Regions from separate parts of the Homo sapiens genome. Here region 2 is linked to region 1. Evidence: promoter capture Hi-C in 16 types of primary human blood cells and fetal thymus (Javierre and others, 2016). All regions are on one chromosome and are shown on one strand. The core of a region is centred on a gene start or on the middle of the fragment in contact, and the rest is flanking DNA. Distances in the headings are between cores, read along the strand shown. Region 1 holds the start of MRPS16 (mitochondrial ribosomal protein S16). Region 2 holds the start of NDST2 (N-deacetylase and N-sulfotransferase 2).

The links. The method cuts DNA at HindIII sites, captures the fragments that hold promoters and counts their contacts. A CHiCAGO score of 5 or more calls a contact.
Region 2: a fragment that was not itself captured here is called in contact with the fragment with the promoter of MRPS16 in region 1 in 1 of 17 cell types (fetal thymus); the score reaches 6.6 in fetal thymus.

What each region holds. Positions count from the first base shown.
Region 1 is chr10:73,248,072-73,254,077 of GRCh38, reverse strand. MRPS16 (mitochondrial ribosomal protein S16) reads left to right here and starts at 1,434. Exons shown (of 3, transcript NM_016065.4): 1 at 1,434-1,608; 2 at 2,055-2,315; 3 at 3,087-5,229. The coding sequence starts at 1,596. The coding sequence ends at 3,226. CFAP70 (cilia and flagella associated protein 70) reads left to right here. Exons shown (of 28, transcript NM_001367801.1): 28 at 23-316. The coding sequence ends at 103. It overlaps DNAJC9-AS1 (DNAJC9 and MRPS16 antisense RNA 1), which reads right to left. Exons shown (of 4, transcript NR_038373.1): 2 at 5,628-5,785. RefSeq lists enhancers at 1,039-1,298, 1,419-1,708, 1,148-1,715. The HindIII fragment of the contact is 1,832 bases long and covers 479-2,310 here.
Region 2 is chr10:73,807,625-73,814,095 of GRCh38, reverse strand. NDST2 (N-deacetylase and N-sulfotransferase 2) reads left to right here and starts at 2,498. Exons shown (of 15, transcript NM_003635.4): 1 at 2,498-2,622; 2 at 3,193-3,297; 3 at 5,367-6,471. The coding sequence starts at 5,708. It overlaps NDST2-ZSWIM8-AS1 (NDST2-ZSWIM8-AS1 readthrough), which reads left to right and starts at 2,276. Exons shown (of 18, transcript NR_182658.1): 1 at 2,276-2,622; 2 at 3,193-3,297; 3 at 5,367-6,471. CAMK2G (calcium/calmodulin dependent protein kinase II gamma) reads left to right here. Exons shown (of 23, transcript NM_001367534.1): 23 at 1-1,595. RefSeq lists silencers at 1,984-2,693, 2,994-3,063. The HindIII fragment of the contact is 756 bases long and covers 3,308-4,063 here.

The sequences.
Region 1 (6,006 bases), core at 185-2,684:
CCTTTCTTCCTCTTTCATGTAGCTGAAATTGAAAGATGAGGCTCTGCTTGCAGAGATCCACACACTACAGGAAACAGTTGGCTTTGGAAATCCATCTTTCTGATACCCCTCCAGCTGAACAATTTTCTGCATGGGACTCTGAGTTCCTTTCCTTCCCAGAGAGTTTTACCGTATGAAGCCTGGAGCTGGAGAACGAAAGAATCTTCACTATAAACAGAGACCCATTCATTTATTTCCATTGGCTGTGTTACTGGATGTTTTACTGGTTGACGAGAAACTGGGTCACAATAAAAAAATGGAGATATGAAACTCAAAATTCATCAGCATGGTTCTGGAGTTAACGTATACTGAGTTACATGTAGGTATTTAGTTATATAAATAACTATAGTGTAATTGCTATAATAATTATATGGCATATATATACATACAATAAAATTAAGGTATAGTGGGGTCATTATTAGGGTTTCTGATGAAAGCTTATTGGATCACTCCTGGAGGAAGTCAGGTGCTAAGGTTTCTGGACAGGTTCAGTTAACTGAAATACAGGAATTAAGGCATCATTTTCAAAGGTGGCCCTGGAGGAAGACTGCTATGCTGGGTCACTGTATTAGGGCAAAGAGCATGCTAGCCCTTTGGAACTAACAGTAAACGAAAAAGCTGAACAGAGAGGTCTTTGCTGAAGGTGGAGCTATTGACACCTTCTCACCAAACACAGGCATCTTCATGGATCTAAACCACTAGGGCTCCAAGGAGACACCGTTACCCTCATCACCGAGGTCATATTCTAGGGCTACAGATAAAAAAAAAAAAAATCATACTTCACCTCTGCCCTGGATCACAGCACGGCAAAAGCAGGAATAACCCCTCCTTTTTTTTTTAAGGTGTGACTGCCTCGATAGGGGTGGGACGACAACAGGAGAAAAGGTGAGAGGTAAATTAATTTTGGTTAACGAGAAGGATAAAGTAAAATCTAGTCACTTACAATCCTTCTCCTAGTCTCGGCCCTGACACTACCTCCTCTGTGAAGTCTTCCTTAGCAAGCACTAGGTTTGCCTTCTCTGCTCGCTGTCCTTGCGCTGAGTACTACTGATCGCGCTAGTTTCTCTGCTGTCATCTCACGGTCTCCCCAGCGGACTGTGAGCTCCACGAGGAAAGAACAGCGCCCTTTAGTATTTGCGTTCTCAGCGTTGCGCCTCGGCACCAACGCTTGCAAGATGGATGGCTTTTGTAGCACTTTCCTTGGCGCGCCTGGGATTCGCCTAAAACTTCTGACTCCAGCAGGGACTCACAAGTCTGAGAGGGATCGCACCGCCACTCCCACAAGACACCACGAGAAACGCCTCTTTTGCAGCAGTTTAAGGTACGTTAGGGGTCACCGTGTTGCATTGTGGGAAGTATAGGGCGGCAAGCGGAGGAGGCGTGGCGAGCGGATCATCCGCTTCCGGAGTCGAGGTTTTCGGGCTTGTACCGCTTGGCGGTGCGGCCTGGTGTCGGCTTGCAGGTTCTTTCTGTGTTTGTTCTCTGCCCTGCCAAGGCCGTAGAGCTGGTGCGTGCGGGTAGCGGGGCTCTCCGAGGAGCCGCACGCCGGCGGCACCATGGTCCACCTCAGTGAGTCATCGGGCCACCGCGAGACGTTCCGGGCGGTCACGGGGCTCGGGAGTTCGGGGCCGGGTGGGGAGAGCTCTCCCAGGCGCGATGGAGGCAACCCGAACCTGAAGCAGCCACACTGCCTTACATTTGATCCTTCTCTCAGTTTTTTCCCCACTTAATCACCGCTGAAAAATTTCCACCCCATTGAAGCAGCTAAGGCTCCGACAAGGTCACAGAGCCTAGTGAATGGCAAGCCCATGCGGGGTGGGTTTGGGTATGAGGAGGAGGTCATTGCTGGCTGGACTGGCCAAGAGGGGTTTCACAAAGAAGAGTAGCATCTAAACTGGATTGACAGGAATGGATTGGAAGTGAGACATTTCAGTGGGAAAAGGGAATTGTGCCGTCTGTGTCATTTTGTCCTTTTTGTGCTGTTTTTTGTGTCCTAACCAGCTGCTTTTCTACAGCTACTCTCCTCTGCAAGGCCTACCGTGGGGGCCACTTAACCATCCGCCTTGCCCTGGGTGGCTGCACCAATCGGCCGTTCTACCGCATTGTGGCTGCTCACAACAAGTGTCCCAGGGATGGCCGTTTCGTAGAGCAGCTGGGCTCCTATGATCCATTGCCCAACAGTCATGGAGAAAAACTCGTTGCCCTCAACCTAGACAGGATCCGTCATTGGATTGGCTGCGGGGCCCACCTCTCTAAGCCTATGGAAAAGCTTCTGGGTAACTCAGCTCTGGTCTTACCTTATTGAGGGGATTTTAAACTGAAGTCAGCTCCAGGACAGTAGGTGTAAGAATGATTTTCGGCTGGGCACGGTGGCTCACGCCTGTAATCTCAGCGCTTTGGGAGGCCGAGGCGGGCGGATCACCTGAGGTCAAGAGTTTGAGACCAGAGTGGCCAACATGGTGAAACGCTGTCTCTACTAAAAATAAAAAAAAAAAATTAGTTGGGCGTGGTGACACGCACCTGTAGTCTCAGCTACTGGGGAGGCTGAGGCAGGAGAATCGCTTGAACCCAGGAGGCGGAGGTTGCAGTGAGCCAAGATCGCGTCACTGCACTCCAGTCTGGGCAACAGAGGGCGATTCCATCTCAAAGAAAAAAAAAAAAGAGTTATTTCATTCCCTCTAGGCTGTTCAGGACTGAAGTGGGAGCTGAAGTTGTGATCTAATTGGCATTTTGAATCTGGAGGCCCCTTTTGTGGACTCCTTTGTAAGACTTTGGGTGACTGGTATTTTATGCTAAAAATAGGAATAGTATGTTTTGAATGGCCATCTGTCAGTTTACGTTTTTTAAAGTAAGGGGAATATTGTTAGGGAAGTAGACATCCACTGTCTCCTTGCCGGGGAGAAGTAGTACAGAGTTTGGCAAGTGAGGAGCATGGTTTGCATCCATGCACTGGGTCAGATCTCAGACCTCAGTTCTGTGAGACAGAGTTCCTAGGGAAGCATTGGCTTATACTGTGTTATAATAAGTGAAAAATCTGTTACTTTTAGGTCTTGCTGGCTTTTTCCCTCTGCATCCTATGATGATCACAAATGCTGAGAGACTGCGAAGGAAACGGGCACGTGAAGTCCTGTTAGCTTCTCAGAAAACAGATGCAGAAGCTACAGATACAGAGGCTACAGAAACATAAATGAGCTGACTTTAGTGAGCATAGCAGTGGGAACAAGGTCAAGGTCCTTTTGAAACACTGCAGCGATCTTAATTTTGTTAGATTTGGAGTTCAATAAATGGAGTATCCTGAGTTGCCCTTGCTCTTCTGGCCTGGCCTGCACAGGGCCCAGGGAGAGATTTGTTCTTGTGTGACTTAGAGCTGGGTGTGGGTACTAATTAGCTTTTTTCGACTTTGTCTTGGGATAGACAGTGGCTATGGGAGGATTGGACTTTTGAGTTGGGCTCTGGGTCTCTTGGACAACTTTACAATTTACTGGCTTCCAAGACTTCCTGCTTCAAAACCCCCAGCCAGACTATTCATGGCCCATTCAGATCTTCATGTTCATCCCACAAGTGCAAGAACAGTTAACCTTTCTTAATTGATTTTTGTAATTGGAGGTTTATATTGTCTTGCCTAATGCATATTCTCTTTTTTTTTTTTTTTTTGAGACGGAGTCTTGTTCTGTTGCCAGGCTGGAGTGCGGTGGTGCAATCTCAGCTCACTGCAATCTCCACCTCCTGGGTTCAAGAGGTTCTCCTGCCTCAGCCTCCTGAGTAGCCGGGGAGCTACAAGCATGCACCACCACACCCAGCTAATTTTTTTTTTTTTTTTGAGAGGAGTCTCGCTCTGTCGCCCAGGCTTGAGTGCAGTGGCGCGATCTCGGCTCACTGCAAGCTCTGTCTCCTGGGTTCATGCCATTCTCCTGCTTCAGCCTCCCGAGTAGTCCCAGGAGTAGCTGGGACTACAGGTGCCCACCACCACACCCAGCTAATTTTTTTGTATTTTTAGTAGAGATGGGGTTTCACCATGTTATCCAGGATGGTTTTGATCTCCTGACCTCGTGATCCGCCCGCCTTGGCCTCCCAAAAGTGCTGGGATTATAGGCGTGAGCCACCGCCCGGGCAAATTTTTGTATTTTTAGTAGAGATGGGGTTTCACCGTGTTGGCCAGGATGGTCTCAATCTGACCTTGTGATCTGCCCACCTCGGCCTCCCAAAGTGCTAGGATTACTGGCGTGAGCCACCACTCCTAGCCTTAATGCATATTCTTAAATATACAAAGGTAGATTTGTTATGAAAATTGCTTTGGGGCTCTAATAACCTACCTTTTAAGAATGAGAAACTGCTGGGCTTAAGGGAGTTCAGTATGAATCAAGATTGAACCATTCAAATGTGGCTGTGATTTCTGCATATATCATAGATGGGATCCTTCTGAGAATACTGGAATAGGGAATTAGGACACCAAGCCAATTCAGCTGTGAACCTTATTCTTGTACTTTTCTTTCTTGCTGGTAATTTTATGGAGCAGGTTAAGAAGGCTGCTCTGTGTTAGGATAAACTGTATACCAATAATGTTGACAACCTGTAATGAGTGTTGCATTTTACTTCTTGTATCTTTTCCTTCCTACCTTGATGCCAGTAATCTATAAGGGATCTTTATAGTTTGAATGTATTTGAATAACTTCAGTATACTTTAGTTCTACTTTTTTATTTGACTCACAACCATTCTTAGGTCTCAAGTATTCCCATGTGTTTTAAAAGCCTGAAGTCAGTGAGATGAAATTCAACATCAAGAATTTGAAGTAACTTGTAAGGAAAAATAATATAAAGATACCATTGGGGCAGTGGCTCACACCTGTAATCTCAGCACTTTGGGAGGCTGAGGTGGAAGGATCACTTGAAGCCAGAGTTTGAGACCAGCCTGTGCAACACAGCAAGACCCCGTCTCTACAAAAACTTAAAAAATTAGCTGGCTGTGGTGTTGCTCACCCATAGTTCCAGCTACTCGGGAAGCTGAGGCAGTAAGATCACTTGAGCCCAGGAGGCCGATGCTGCAGTGAACTGTGATTGTTCCACTACAGTCCAGCCTGGGTGACAGAGAAAAGAAAAAGAAAACATTACATAATTTGGCTAGAGCATAATAATTTGATTTTCTGGTTTTTGAAAATTTGAGTTGCAATAAAAGGATATTTCAGTGTGCGATTTCAATTTTCCGTAGCAAATGTATATATAGAAAAATGTTAAAATAGATGTATTTGAATACCTTAAAAAATACAAGAAACTGGAAGAAAGATAATATTGCAAAGCATCTACATATATCCTAGGCCTTTTGTGTACAAGGTTATTTGTGACAATTGTAAGGTATTATGAAGGCAGGTAGGATTATCTCCGTTTTACAGATAGGGAAGCTGAGGCCTAGAGGTGGAAACTTGCCCAGTGATGTAAGATTCATCTCCCGGTTATGCCCTCCTGGAAAGCCCTTCCCAACATATTATGTTGTCCATAGAGGGAAAAATGAGCAAAGACAGATGGCTTAACTCTGGTGTGTGACTAAGATATAGGAAATTTATAGAGGAGGTTCTATCAATGTGCCGACTTACTTTGTGTTTTATGTTCTGAGAACGATTACCAGCCATCTCAAATTCTGTGGTTGTCAAAGCTCCCCTGGGGTTGTTGCTGGTTGGCCCCCACTTGCTTTGAGACTTTGATGCCAGGGCAGGTTGAGAGGAACTGACTTCAGCTGAGTTTGATCTTGGATCTGGGAAAGAGAAATGCTTTGAAAATCACGGCAACTCTGGGAAGTTTAAAAGATATTAATGTATCCTGGAGAGTTTGAGGCTTTGCAGAAACTTATTGGCAGAGCAGAATGATTCTGAAAAATGCTACATCAGTGAGGGGATATTTGATAAGGTATTTTCTGCCAACTCGGGTATTCACTTAGCATTGTTTATCCTTTAAGATATGTATACACATACTTCC
Region 2 (6,471 bases), core at 2,436-4,935, 560 kb before region 1:
GAACTCTGACAGAGCTTTGGGGGCCGTGATGTGATTGCAGCTCCTGAGGTGGCCTGCTTACCCCAGGTCTAGGAATGAACTTCTTTGGAACTTGCATAGGCGCCTAGAATGGGGCTGATGAGAACATCGTGACCATCAGACCTACTTGGGAGAGAACGCAGAGCTCCCAGCCTGCTGTGGAGGCAGCTGAGAAGTGGTGGCCTCAGGACTGAGAGCCCGGACGTTGCTGTACTGTCTTGTTTAGTGTAGAAGGGAAGAGAATTGGTGCTGCAGAAGTGTACCCGCCATGAAGCCGATGAGAAACCTCGTGTTAGTCTGACATGCACTCACTCATCCATTTCTATAGGATGCACAATGCATGTGGGCCCTAATATTGAGGCCTTATCCCTGCAGCTAGGAGGGGGAGGGGTTGTTGCTGCTTTGCTTCGTGTTTTCTTCTAACCTGGCAAGGAGAGAGCCAGGCCCTGGTCAGGGCTCCCGTGCCGCCTTTGGCGGTTCTGTTTCTGTGCTGATCTGGACCATCTTTGTCTTGCCTTTTCACGGTAGTGGTCCCCATGCTGACCCTCATCTGGGCCTGGGCCCTCTGCCAAGTGCCCCTGTGGGATGGGAGGAGTGAGGCAGTGGGAGAAGAGGTGGTGGTCGTTTCTATGCATTCAGGCTGCCTTTGGGGCTGCCTCCCTTCTTATTCTTCCTTGCTGCACGTCCATCTCTTTTCCTGTCTTTGAGATTGACCTGACTGCTCTGGCAAGAAGAAGAGGTGTCCTTACAGAGGCCTCTTTACTGACCAACTGAAGTATAGACTTACTGCTGGACAATCTGCATGGGCATCACCCCTCCCCGCATGTAACCCAAAAGAGGTGTCCAGAGCCAAGGCTTCTACCTTCATTGTCCCTCTCTGTGCTCAAGGAGTTCCATTCCAGGAGGAAGAGATCTATACCCTAAGCAGATAGCAAAGAAGATAATGGAGGAGCAATTGGTCATGGCCTTGGTTTCCCTCAAAACAACGCTGCAGATTTATCTGCACAAACATCTCCACTTTTGGGGGAAAGGTGGGTAGATTCCAGTTCCCTGGACTACCTTCAGGAGGCACGAGAGCTGGGAGAAGAGGCAAAGCTACAGGTTTACTTGGGAGCCAGCTGAGAAGAGAGCAGACTCACAGGTGCTGGTGCTTGGATTTAGCCAGGCTCCTCCGAGCACCTCATGCATGTCCCAGCCCCTGGGCCCTAGCCCTTTCCTGCCCTGCAGTCTGCAGTGCCAGCACGCAAATCCCTTCACCACAGGGTTTCGTTTTGCTGGCTTGAAGACAAATGGTCTTAGAATTCATTGAGACCCATAGCTTCATATGGCTGCTCCAGCCCCACTTCTTAGCATTCTTACTCCTCTTCTGGGGCTAATGTCAGCATCTATAGACAATAGACTATTAAAAAATCACCTTTTAAACAAGAAACGGAAGGCATTTGATGCAGAATTTTTGCATGACAACATAGAAATAATTTAAAAATAGTGTTTGTTCTGAATGTTGGTAGACCCTTCATAGCTTTGTTACAATGAAACCTTGAACTGAAAATATTTAATAAAATAACCTTTAAACAGTCCATTGTGTTACTGCTGTTGGAGGTTTACGGCCAGAGGCGTAGATTTTAGCAGCCTGGCTTACCAGGTTGGAGAGAGTACCTCCTCCTACTCCCTTTGGGTACTTTTGAGAATAAAACTTCCTCATGCCTGTAATCCCAGTACTTTGGGAGGCCGACGCGGGCGAATCACGAGGTCAGGAGTTCGAGACCAGCCTGGCTAATATGGTGAAACCCCGTCTCTACTAAAAAATACAAAAAATTTAGCTGGGCATAGTGGCGGGCGCCTGTAATCCCAGCTGCTCGGAAGGCTGAGGCAGGAGAATCGCTTGAACCTGGGAGGGGGAGGTTGCAGTGAGCCGAGGTCGCGCCACTGCACTCCAGCCCAGGCGACAGAGTGAGACTCCGTCTCAAAAAAAAAAAAAAAAAAAAAAAAAAAAAAAAAAAACTTCTCATAAACAGCCTCCAAACAGCGCTCGGTGCTGCGCAGGCGACGCGGGGCGGGGAGGGAGGGTGAGTGCCCTGGGAGCCGGCTGAGGGCCTCGCCCCGCCCCTGGTCCCGCCTCCGGTTAGGCCGCTCCGCCTCTTACTCCTCCCCTCCCCCGAGTGGGCCGGCCCGGCTCCCCCTCCGCGGGGCTGAGTGGATGAGCCCAGGCCTGAGCCCGCCCCTGCTCCGAAGTCGTGGTCCCCGACGCTCGGCCGGCAGTGCCATCGCGCGGAGAGGAGGGGGTGCGCTTCCGCGGGCGGGGCGCGGAGCCCGCCGTCTCGGAGGCCGCGGCTCGGCCCGGCACTGCGGAGGGCCGCTTGATTTCCCGGAACCCAGGTCGCGCGGCTGCTAGGGCCGGAGCCGGTGGATCCGAGCGGGTGCCACCAGCGGCGGCGCGCCGCCTCCCCCGGTGGGAGCGGTGGTTGGGCCAGGCTGCGGCAGAGCGTTCGCTCGGAGATGGCGGAGCAGCCGCGACGCGGCCCGTGGCCCCGAAAGCAGGGAAGCCGGGCAGCCCCGGGACGCGGCGGAGCCCGGGGACAGCGGGGACGCCGCCCAGTCCTCCGGGTGAGCCGCCCCTGAGGAGACCCCCCCGCCCACGGTCGCGCTCAGGCCCCCCCAACAGACTCCCTTGGATGTTGCCACCATCACCACCCGCAGGGTCGTCCCGGGCGGCCCAGCGTGCGCCGCGCCCCGGGTCCTTTCCGCCGGCCTCCCTCAGAACCGCCTCGCTCCCCTCCGGACCGGGCGGGCTCCCTTCTTCCCGCAGGGCTCTCCCAGCCCAGAGGCTGTCTCGATGTCACCCCGGAGTCGCCGCCGCGCGCCTGTGGCCCCTTCCCCTTTGGTGTCCCACATCCGGTGCGCTCTTCGCATCCACCTGTGCCCCCGTCTCCTCTCGGCGGGGCCCCTCCACCCGCCAGCCCCGGGCCCCCTCGGCGCCCGCAGCCTCCGCGCCGCTGCTCCGGCCGTCCCGGCCTCCCCAAGCCCGGGCCCGGCCCCGGCCCCCGTCTGGCTTCGCCGTCCTCAGAGATCTCCCGCACACACCCACCCCGCCCAGCCCTGCTGGCCCTCAGTGTTCACTGGCCCGGCCTGCGGCGCTCCCGGCGCCCCTTCCCTAAACCTTGCTGCTTCTTCCAGGTATGAAGCTAAAATGCAGCGGCTAAGAACGCGGCTCTGGAGCTTGACAGGCCTGACGTCGAATCCCAGCCCTCCCACCAACTGAGCTGTGTGATCCTGGGCAAGGTTCTAAGCTTCTCTGAGTTACTCATATGTGAAATGGGGATAATGGAGCATGTACCTTTTCCCTACCTCTTAGGGCTGGTGTGAAGATTAAATATATGTGAAGCTCTTAGAAGAATGGCTGGCAAGTTGTAATTTCTCAAATACGGGATGATACACCCTGAGTATCAACTTCCCGTCAGTGACCTCCTCACTACAATGTTTTCTCTAAAGTTGCATCACATTCTTAGCATTCACCCCTTCCCGTCACCATTTTGATCCTCTCCCCCAGCTGTCTTCTCGTGTCGTTTTACCTAGGCCAAAGCTGAACTGTTTTATTTTTATTTTTATTTTTATTTTTTTTTGAGCTGGAGTCTAGCTCTGTCACCCAGGCTGGAGTACAGTGGCACAATCTCAGCTCACTGCAATTTCCGCCTCCCACGTTCAAGTGATTCTCCTGCCTCAGCCTCCTGAGTAGCTGGGACTACAGGCGCCCACCACCATGCCCATCTAATTTTTGTATTTTTAGTAGAGACGGGGCTTCACCATGTTGGCCAGGCTGGTCTCGAACTCCTGACCTCAAGTGATCACCCGCTTCGGCCTTTCACAGTGCTGGAATTACAGGCGTGAGGCACCACGCCTGTCCTGAACTGTTTTTAAATCATCTCTGTCAATTCTGAAGGACCTCAGCTCTGCCTTATCACCCCTGAGATGTGTGTTTGGGGGTGGGTGGTAGAGAGGGATTGCCAGCCTTACAAGGAGGCTGAGTGGGGATAGTGACAATAAAGCTTACAGAAGCAGTCGATTTAAGAAAAAGAACAGACTCAGGAGGCTGAGGCCGGAGGATTGTCTGTCTGACCCCAGGAGTTCAAGACCAGCCTGGGCAACGTAACAAGACCCCCATCTCTAAAAAAAATTAAAAATTAGTAGGGTGTGGTGGTGCAAAGCTGTAGTCCCAGCTACATGGGAGGCTGAGGTGGGAGGATCACTTGAGCCCAGGAGTTTGAAGCTGCAGTAGGCTATGATCACACTAGCACACTGTATCCTGGGTGACAGAGCAAGACTCCATCTAAAAATAATAAAAGAGATCCCCAAAATTAGACCTCCTTAAAACTGTTTTCTGATCACACTGTCCTTTTTCCTTCTGTCATTGGTTGGATGTGACTTAAGCTCCTGTTGCTCTCTGTCATCCAGTCCTTACTCAAGTTGTTCTGTTTGTGTAACTGGACTCAATACCTCATGTCTCTCCAGACTAGCTCAGGGACTCTTCTGAGCTGTTTAGGAATAGGGTTGTAGAACTACTTAGGCTAAGTTAGGAAGGAGAAGTAGAGTGGACTCAGCTGTATGGCTTTTCTCAGCACCCAGTGTGTGGCCTGCTCAGGGGTTACATTTTTATCTCCTGACTGGCAAAGTTGAGGTGAAGGTCAGGGGCAGGTAATGTTTCACAAGCAACGGGTAAGGGAGTCCCTAATTTCTGGGTTTGGAAACTGGTAGAATGATTACCTATCATGAGGATTGCTCTTTCCTTTTGAACTCCCCCACCATAGTGTCCACCTGACTGCAAGTTCGTTAAAGCTGTTGGCTGTGATATTGGGTTTGATTGATGAGAAGATTAACAGACTCATGAGTTCCTTATCTGATATTTTGTTGGAGCATGGGACTTCTGAAGACTTCCGGGGCTTTCCGTCCCTTCCTCACAGAAAGATCAGAGCTGTTGCTGGCTGCCAGCTGCTCGGTCATGGGCTAGGAACTCCTTTCAGAGCAGGCCTGTTTTTAGCCTTCTAGGATATTTAGCCTCTTGTTGATGGGAGATTTGTTCCTATCATTTGCATATACTGCTCCATCTCTGAGCTTTGCTTAGAGAGGAGAATTTGGACATTCATTTGGGTATTCTAAGAAAGGGAAAGGGAACAAGCTGTGAAGCTAAGGTATAGGACTCAGCTTGTAGATTCTCCTAGAGGAAACTTTTTTTTTTTTTTTTTTGAGAACAGATTATCCAGTAAGCAGGAGGTAAGAGAGATGGGATGGGGAGGAGAATGGATTAATGACAATTTCAGAGGGAGGAGTAACCCACTGATTTCTCTGTCTTACAGGTAGAGGGGAAGAGATTGAACTTTGCTGACCTTTGATGTGAGGCGCTCAGCCAGGGCCAAGGGGAGAGCCTGGCAAGATTTGCAGCCTGAAGCCATGGGCCAGGGGGCCATGGTGACCTGAGACAAGTGGACTCTGTATAGTTGCCCCCTGCTTCCCCTTCTACCTCCCCTACCCTATGCTAAGGGGACTCGTCTCCACCTCGTAAAGGAAACTCCCCAAGGGAATCCCTGTCCCCTATTTTCCTATCCTTCTACCCTTCCAAGACAGTCCTAGCCTATAGAACTCCTACCTCCCATCCCCTGAGGTGGTCCCCATTCCTCCCTCCCTTCCTCCCCCCGCCATGCTCCAGTTGTGGAAGGTGGTACGCCCAGCTCGGCAGCTGGAACTGCACCGCCTCATACTGCTGCTGATCGCTTTCAGCCTGGGCTCCATGGGCTTCCTGGCTTATTATGTGTCCACCAGCCCTAAGGCCAAGGAACCCTTGCCCCTGCCCTTGGGAGACTGCAGCAGCGGTGGGGCAGCTGGTCCTGGCCCTGCACGGCCTCCAGTTCCACCTCGGCCCCCCAGGCCTCCAGAGACAGCTCGAACTGAACCCGTGGTCCTTGTGTTTGTGGAGAGTGCATACTCACAGCTGGGGCAGGAAATTGTGGCCATCCTGGAGTCTAGTCGTTTTCGTTATAGCACTGAGTTGGCACCTGGCCGAGGGGACATGCCCACATTGACTGATAATACCCATGGCCGCTATGTCTTGGTCATTTATGAGAACCTGCTCAAGTATGTCAACCTGGATGCCTGGAGTCGGGAACTGCTAGACCGGTACTGCGTGGAGTATGGTGTGGGCATCATTGGCTTTTTCCGAGCCCACGAGCACAGCCTACTGAGCGCCCAGCTCAAGGGCTTTCCCCTTTTTTTACACTCAAACTTGGGGCTCCGGGACTACCAAGTGAATCCTTCTGCCCCGCTACTGCATCTCACACGCCCCAGCCGCCTAGAACCAGGGCCACTGCCTGGTGATGACTGGACCATCTTCCAATCCAATCATAGTACATATGAACCAGTGCTTCTTGCCAGCCTTCGGCCAGCTGAGCCCGCAGTGCCAGGACC